2 separate regions of the Homo sapiens genome follow, and region 1 is linked to region 2. The links are contacts of gene promoters, found by promoter capture Hi-C in human tissues and cell types (Jung and others, 2019). All regions are on one chromosome and are shown on one strand. Each heading gives the region's core, a stretch centred on a gene start or on the middle of the fragment in contact. The rest is flanking DNA. Distances are from core to core; before and after follow the strand shown.

Region 1 (4,310 bases), core at 111-2,610, 150 kb after region 2:
GTTTTTAGAGACAGGGTCTTGCTCTATTGCCCAGGCTGGAGTGCAGTGGTGTGAACCTAGCTCACTATAACCTCGAATTCCTGGGCTCAAGCGACCCTTCTGCCTTAGCTTCCTGAGTAGCGAGGACTACAGGTACACACCACTATGCCTGGCCAATTTTTTTTTTTACTTCTTGTAGGAACAGGATCTCATCATGTTGTCCAGACTGCTTGAACTCCTGGCTTCAAGCGACCCTCCTCCCTCGGCCTCTCAAAGTTCTGGGATAACAGGCATGACCCACCGTACATGCATGGGCATGATCTGATTTTTTTTTTAATTAAAGTTGTCACAGTTATCAAAGTCTCATTACTGTTTAACACACATTTTACCACTCCTTTCCTAAATAAACCCTCTAACCCAGCAACACGAGTCTCTTTTCTGTCTCTGGAAAAATCTCATTTCCCCCACTTTTGTATCTTCATTTGTACCATTCTCCCTTCTCCATACCATTCTAAATCCAACCAACTCTACAAGGCCTAGTTCAAAACCTGAGGCAGTCCCCCAGATCACCTCAGCCTTTAGGAGATCTGCCTCCTCTCAATTCTCACCACTTGCCTTGGCTATAGTTTGCTTTTATCAAATCTCCTTTGTGCTTTTAACAGCTTGGACACGAGTATGGGGCATGTCAGTGTGAGGTAATGGAGAGAGTTCTGGATATGGAACCAGAAAACCTGGATTTAAGTCCTGATGCCCCCCGCCCCCACTTCCTAGCCATGTGACTTTGGGTAAATCTCTTTGCCTCCCTCTGGCCCTCAGTTCCCTCATCTGTAAAACGGAATTCAAACAACCAGGTATACCTCACGCATCCTAACCTCTGCTATCTACAGAATAAAATTCACTTTGGGCTTGACCCTGTTCTACAGATACATTTTAGGACTTATATATTATTTGAGAACATATGAAAGGAGACTATAAGCATTAGCAACTGGCATAGGTTCACTATGAAGAGTTCTTCAAGCTGGACACGGTGGCACACATCTGTAATCCCGGCACTTTAGGAGGCTGAGGCAAGCAGATAGCTTGAGCTCATGAGTTCAAGACCAGCCTGGGCAACATGGCGAAACCCTGTCTCTACAGAAAATACAACAAAATTAGCCCGGCGTGGTGAAGTGTGCCTGTAGTCCCAGCTAGTTGGAAGACTGAAGTGGTGTGGTAGGATCACTTAACCTGGGAGGCGAAGGTTGCAGTGAACCGAGATCATACCACTGTACTCCAGCCTGGGCGAGTACTAAAAGCGAGACTAAAAACAAAACAAAACAAACAAACAAAAAAACCTTCTTCAGTATAAACAGTTCATTTCCTTTTCCAATAGTTTATTGACAGATAAGGAGAGGGCTTGAGAAATGTCTACTGAATTAGAATATAATATACACAGTAATTAGGCTATAATATATACAATTAAACTAGCCAGGCAGTCAGACTGCTTGCTTTTCCCATAGTGCCCTTCTAAGGGAATGTCTTCATCATAAATGGCCGTGTTGATACCATGCAGTCCTGCTTCCTGGGGCCAAACCTAATTGGACTATGGATGGACACCTGTCTCAATGTGGATTAATGCATAGATTGACCACAGCCTGTGAAACGGCTTAGTGAAAATTCTGCCTTGAAACAGTTCTAGGGAGTGAGTCCTCCAGTTGGTAGCTGGAGCAGTAGCTGGAAGAAATAGACACAAGGAAGGTTAAGATGAGGAGGAGGTACAAGCAGAGGAGTCAGAAGCAGCAGGAAGGAACAGTAAAGTGAAGCTAAGTCACCAGGATGTGAGTTCTAAAGGAAGAATCAATAGATCCTACTGCTGAGGGCTCAAGAAGGTTTAGGCTTTTGAGTTGCCTTGGGTTCTAAATGACTTTCCCATTGTTCTTTTATAAGGCATTTGCTTCACCTGTTTTCCTCACTTATGCTAAAGTACAATACAGTCTTCACAATAATAATCTGCTAATATCTCTGGTCCTTGCCAACTAAAAAAGCCTAACACAACAATACATCTGGATTTCAGTAAAGGCATGCCACCAAGTTACTTAAGTTACTCAGTACTTGTACTGAGAACAAAATGGAACCATGTGAGTTGGACAATCAAACTAAAAGACAGGCAATTAATAGATTCAGGCCAGGTAAATATCCTATGGCAGGCTTCTCAGAAACAATTTAACCCTTTCCCTAGTAGCCATGATAGGTTAAAATTAAAAGACTGTCAACACCAAGTACTAACGAGGATGTGAAATAACTGGAACTCTTACACTGCTGACGGGAGTGTAAATTCAACAACTGCTTGGAAAAACTGTCTGGCAGTATCTACTAAAGCTAAACACATATGTGGACACTCAAGTACCCAAAATAAATTATTGCTTACTTCTATCAAAAGGCATGTACAAGCATGTTCATAGCAGTTTTATTCATAATAAAAATATGAAATAACACAAATATTCATCATCAGTATAATGGATACAGTGTAGTTCATTCAGAATACTTTACAGCAGGGGTCCCCAACCCCTAGGCTGCAGACTGGTAAAATTCCACGGCCTGTTAGGAACCAGGCCACACAGCAGGAGGTAAGCAGCAGGCAAGGGAGCGAAGCTTCATCTGTATTTACGGCTGCTTCCCATCGCTCACATTACCATCTGAGCTCCGCCTCCTGTCAGATCAGCGGTGGCATTAGATTCTCATATGAGCACAAACCCTATTGTGAACTCCGCGTGGGAGGGATCTAGGCTGCGCAATCCTTATGAGACTCTAACTAATGCCTGGTGATCTGAGGTGGAACAGTTTCATCCCGAAACCATCCCATCCCCACCTCTTCCAGGAAACCGGCCCCTAGTGCCAAAAAGGTTGGGGACTGCTGCTTTACAGCAGTGGGGGGAAATATTGATATTCACAACATAAGTAAATCTTTAAGAATAATAATATGAAACTCAAAAGTAGGCAAAACTGATTTCAAATAAATAATATAACTGCTCTGAAGGGGGTCAGAATAACTCTTGAACACAGTACTTTGACTAAATAACTTCTGTTTACAAACAAACAATGCAAAAAAAATTTAACTACTTTGTAGGTTATTTTCTTTCATTGCATGCGTGTATCAATTCTGAAAGTATTTTGTATATATTGTGGGACCATGCAAATGAGGAAATATATGAATGTTGCTAGGAGCCAGAATGCTCACTGTAGTTGAAGGAAACACAAATATAGAATGAGAGAAGGCAAAGAGAAACCCTGTGGATATCAGGTTAGAATTAGAGTTATCAGTATGAACTCACAGTTTTACACACACACACACACACACACACACACACACACACACACACACACACACGCATTGAGTTAAACCAACATGAAATTGCCCAGCAGCACTGACACCCCAGCAGCAATGAGTTTACTTGGTGCACAGACCCTGGCTTTTAAATACCATTCAACTAAGAGGGATCAGAGCTCCTCGGAGAAAAGGCTGATTCTAGGGTTGGGATGAGGAAAGAACAGTTTGAGCCTGGAACATGTATTTGTACCACGAAGTAAGAAAGTGATAAAAGAGTAAAGGAGACGTGTCAAAAGGAAACTAGCCAGCCTGAAACAGCTCCCACTAGCTAAATCAGGGAGAACTTGAGCTCCAAAATGAATAATGACAGTAGATTATAGCCCATTGAATAAAATAAAAATCCACTGTATATACTGAGCAATAGATAGATAGGGAAGCAGGGAAAGCTCTTTCTTATAGTAGGATGCCAAAAATAATAAATGTAAAAGAATAATTGGGCTAGAAAATAATTTTGCAATCATTAGTTAATTCAGACAAGAATCATCAATGCATGTTAAAACTACTGGGCAAAAGTCTGAAGAGGAAAAGGGTATTCACATAGTCTTAAAGTATCTCTTCACAGATTACTTCTTAATTACAAAGGATAAATGGTAGCCTTATAGCAGAGAAAGGAGGCAAGCACCACCTTACACAAGAAATGTAGGTTAGAATCACTAATAATGTGCCAAACTGACATCAGGTGCCTCCTCATATGATGCACTAAAGACAGACACAACATCACTTATTTAGTATTCCTGCCAAAAGTGTGTAAGTGAAATCCAATCATGAGGAAAAATCAGATAAAACCAATTGAGGGACATTATATACAAAACAACTGTCCTGTACTCTTAAAAAATGTCAATGTCATAAGAGATAAAGAAAAGCTATTCCAGAATAAAGGAGGCAAGGGGACATGACAACTAAATGCAATATATGATTCTGAACTGGATGCTAGATCAAAGTGAAAAATTGTCATAAAAGACAT
Region 2 (4,439 bases), core at 1,940-4,439:
ACTTGCCCAAGGTCACAGCTAGTCAGTACTGGAGCTGGGATTTGAATCCAGGCAGTCTGGTTTTAAAGTCTGTGCTCTTAGCCACTGAACATACCACACCACAACTGCTCCCACCCCCACCAGCCCCAGCTACCAAAGACCCTCTGGCACCAGACCACAAGCTTTCTTCTGCAAGGGAGGGGCAAATGGCTGCGAATAGGAGGTGCTGCTCCAAAGTGGAAAAGGAGTGAGGTTTTCAGTCTAGCTGGGGGTCTGTCGTTAGTGTTTGCGAGTGAGAAGCTAGGGAATGGTTAGTCATTCTTCCTCCTATTTCCCCCCAAAACCCTCTGTTTCTCTGTTTTCTGGTTTTTGGTTTTTGTTGATTTCTTCTGTGTTGCCCTCTTGGTTTTCCTAGGCTGTTTGCAAATGCTAGCATTCTCGCAGTGTGAAGGGGAAGTGAGAGAAGAAAGTTTGATGTCCTGTTCAGGATCCACAAGGGAGGCCATTCTTTGGGGCCTGGGCTGGGGGTGTGTCATCAGGGATCAAAGTGAGAATCCTAAAGTGGAACAGTGTGGGGCACATTGGGAACAGCTACCCTCTCCTGCTGGGGAGGCTCCTGTGTCTGAGTTTTCTCTGCTTACCTCTTGGGGGATTTTAGGGTGTAATGGGCTTTAGGGTGCAATGAATACCCTTTCACATTCCTTCTGCCTCCAACCCTGGCCTACCTCCCTCTTTCTAACACATCGTCCAGAGCCCCTAATCACCCAACCTTCTGCCTACCAGGAGCCCCTTGTTTCTCTCTGTCTCTCTGTGCCCCCTCCCCAACTGCCTGGGTCACACTGCAGCCCCCTATTAGGACTCGCCATGGCGTAGTGATGGGGCCCTGCACTGATTCCCTAAAAAACCCTGGGTAAGTCCCTCCTCCTGACTTGGTCTCCATTAGGTGTTCCAGACTCCCACAGTCTCTGCCACTTGGGTTCTAGGATCCCAGCCTCTCTCCTAGCCTTTCTCAAATCATCTGGACCTTAGTGAGGATCTACTGTATTCTGGGCACTCTGGAGGGAAGCAAACAAGAAGCCCTGGAGGAGCTGATGGTCCTTTTATGGAGATCAGATGAGCTATGGAGAAGATCAGGAGCCATACTCTGATCCCGTGTGGTTCTGCAGGTGAAGAGAGAGGTGAAGTCCTGGAACCCTATGGCTAGTAGAATCCCAGAAGATTCTTGGGTGAGAAGAGGGGCTGGACATCTGGGTAGAAAGAAAGGAAGGTTTGGAGAGGCTGCTTTCTTGTCTCTCCCCATCTTGATTTCTCCCAGCTGTGTGTGTGTGTGTGTGTGTGTGTGTGTGTGTGTGTGTGTGTGTGTGTATGTGTCTGCCTCTGTGTCCACCTTTTTCTCTTCCTTCTGGATTCTCCATTTCTATTTCATCTTCTACCAATGTTGGGACAGAATTTCCTGAGAACCCATGTCCCGGGGATCTGAATATGGGCCAGGATGGGCCACACCAGGCCGGGCCACACCAGGCCAGGCTTCCTTGTGGTTAGGAGATGGGGACTCACACTGGTCAGGGTGAAAGGGACACTCAAAATCACTCTCATCCCTGCATTACTCTGAGATTGAAGGGGAAACAGCTCCTATTTAGAGGAATCACACAGATCAATATCTGGAGGGAGGAGGTGCCATGCAGGCCCCAAAATCCAACCCTCTCTTTGTCTCTGCCCAACTCTGCCCATTTCTGACTTAATTTAGCCTCTCTGTCTCTCCCCTTGTCCTATTCCCATCTGTCAATCCTTGCCCTGCCCCTCTCCACCCCTTCAAGCCTTTTACCCACCACACACAGATTTTCCTGTGGCTAGATTGGGATTCCCCTGGCCAAGTAAGGAGAGCGATGTCTGTGGCACAGCTTTGTCCCCAGGCTCACAACGGCATCTGTGGGTCAGGGTAGAGGGACAGCTGTCTGCACAGTTAGAAAGTGCCAGCAGTAATAAAAGCCTCATATCTTCTTAATTAAATCGCCCTTTGCCCAGGCATCCTGTGTTCGATTGGGTTGAGCTGGGATCAATAAGCCTCTTTCCCACCCCAGCCACCCCTGGAGACGGGCCTGACCTCCCCAGTCCTGCCTAGGCCCACCTGGCCACCTCCCCAGAAGGCTGGGAGCTTCTCAAGGCCAGAGGCTGGGTCAGATTCATCTCTTGTGTCCTTGTGCCTGGGACGGATCCTGAAACAAGTAAGGAGTAAAGGAGTGATTGCTTTACTGAGTAAACCAAGGCACTAGCAGCAGGCATGGGCCAGGAAGGCTTTGAGGTTCAAACTGGAACTCCCACCCCCAGGACCAACTGTGAAGATGGAGGAATCACAGCAAGCAGCAGCTCCCACCCAGCTCCCAGACATAACACCAGCTTATCACCCAGGGCAGTTGAAGCCCTAGGAAGTGCGGGGTGGGGGTGTCAGTGCTCAGGGAAACTACGAGCAGTTGCTGCTTCTGACCTCTGAGGGCAGAAGGTCCTTTTCATAAGGGGTCTCCACCTAGGGATCCAGGGTTAGTGTGGGAGAGTCCGTGAGCTTGGATGGATGTGGCACTCATGGGAGACTCCCTCTGTCTGAAGCTATAAAGGGCCCAGGGTCAGTAAGGAGTCCAAAGGGGTTAATAGGGGTCCAGGATTGATTGTTAGTGGAGGGCGTAGAGGATAACGTGGTGTGTGTGTGTGTGTGTGTGTGTTGGGGTTCATGCAAGACATTACCCATGGAAGGAACATGGGGCCTCCAGGTTCCGCGAGAAGGGTCGGTATTAAAGGATTCCTTGGAGCGGTCAGCACTGGTCCGGGCCAGGGTGTCTCTGATGACAAAACTCCGGGAGAGCTTTGTCTCACCAGGGATCAGATGGTCCCTGGTTTGGAAGGCAAGGGGAGGGTGCCAACGCCCTTCTCACCTCAGTCTGACCCGGGGGCGCGGGCCCAGACGTCTCTCGGAGCCCCCGCCCCTGGAGTGGCGTTCCCCGAGGGCGGACCGTGGGCGGGTCCCCCGGGAGCAGCAGGAGCCGCGCGGGGCGGGCGCCCCCAGCGCCGAGGTTGAGGGAGGCCGGGCTCGGTGCGGGGCTGGGAGGGGGGCGCGGAATCAGGGCTTTTTAGGACCCAGCGCGGCGCCTTCCTCCGGGGGCGAGTGCGGCTGCGCGCGCCGTGTGCCCGTGTCCGGAGAGCGGCGGGCTGGACGCGGACCGCGCGAACGAGCAGGCGACGGGCGAGCAGCAAGCGGAGCAGCAGCCCGGGCGGCAGCAGCGTCGCGGCGGCGGCGGCAGCGGCCGCTCCGCGCCTCGCCTCACCGGCCTCGCTGGCCTCACCTCGCCGCGCCCGGACCCGCCACCCCCGCCTCCCCGCCCGACCTCCGCAGCCCCCGTCTCGGCCGGCAGCGCCCACCGCCTGCCCGAAGCGAGGAGCGGAGTGCGGGGCGCAGAGGCACCGGAGCCAGTGCCCGCCGGCCCCGCAAATCAAACCCAGCCAGGAGAACCCCCGCCTGGCCCCGTGCAGCTCCGCGACCGCCGGGAGCTGTCCCTTCAGCACCGCCGCGGGAGCCCAAGTCCGAGCGCAGCCCAGCGGAACCCCAGCTCGAGCCCGGGCTCACGGAGAGCAGCGCTCGGCGTTAGCCGCACGAGCAACACCCCGGGTGCCCCTGCCCAGGGGGCCCGCCATCTCCTCCAGGAGGCGGGGAGAAGGAACGAGGAGGGCGGGCGGGCAGGCGGGCCCGCCGCCGGGGGGAGCAGGCAGCCAAGCAAGGAGAGAGGGAGGGGGCCGGAGCCCGCCCTGCGTCCCGAGCTGCAGCCCGGCCACGCAGGGAGGAAGGCAGGCGGCATCCATCTCCCCCGCGCCGAGAGCGCGCCGCGGCGACCACCTCACAGAGGAGCGCGAATTTCCCGGCCCTGTCTCCTCCCCTCCCCCTCCTGGGGGCTGGCCTCTAGTCCGGCCCCGGGAGCGGCTGACCTTTCCCCCAAAAGCTTTGTGCCGATTTCTCCATTTTCCCGCGGAGATGGGGACGGGAGCCCGGCCCCCCAACCCATTTTCCCCACCTCCCGGGGCTCGCTGCTGAGCCCGCCCCCCTCCCTCTTTCCCCCTCACTCCCTCCCTCCCTCCCTTTCTCCCTCCCTTTCTCCCTCCCTTCTTTCCTCCTCTGCCTCCTCCGCTGCCGGACCAGCTCCCTCCCACATCTGGCTCCTAGAGACCCCTGGGATCCCGCGCACATTCCCCTGGACCGGCACCCGACAAAGCGCCCGGAGAGGCTTGGCTCGCTCGTTGGGGTGGCCAGAGCCGCAGGCCTCTGTTCCCCCCGACGGCTGGGGGGAGGGGGGAAGAGGGCGCGCGCCCCCCTCCCCGGCGCCAACTCCCCCTGGCGGCCGCTCCCATGGGTGTCGCTGGGCCGCGCCATGCCTAAGGGGGCGCCGCGATGGGCCAAGGGGACGAGAGCGAGCGCA

Evidence for each region. The method cuts DNA at HindIII sites, captures the fragments that hold promoters and counts their contacts. A contact is called where the count stands out against the background at its distance.
Region 1: a contact is called between a fragment that was not itself captured here and the fragment with the promoter of KCNC1 in region 2, in 6 of the 25 tissues and cell types used here (bladder, dorsolateral prefrontal cortex, heart right ventricle and 3 more).

Annotation. Positions count from the first base shown.
Region 1 is chr11:17,885,333-17,889,642 of GRCh38, forward strand. The region is part of intron 9 of SERGEF (secretion regulating guanine nucleotide exchange factor); the gene reads right to left. Among named protein-coding and RNA genes, the nearest start is that of SERGEF, 130 kb to the right of the region's middle. The HindIII fragment of the contact is 4,469 bases long and covers 1-3,595 here.
Region 2 is chr11:17,731,592-17,736,030 of GRCh38, forward strand. It overlaps KCNC1 (potassium voltage-gated channel subfamily C member 1), which reads left to right and starts at 3,190. Exons shown (of 4, transcript NM_001112741.2): 1 at 3,190-4,439. The coding sequence starts at 4,412. RefSeq lists a silencer at 3,030-3,129. The HindIII fragment of the contact is 8,281 bases long and covers 1-4,439 here.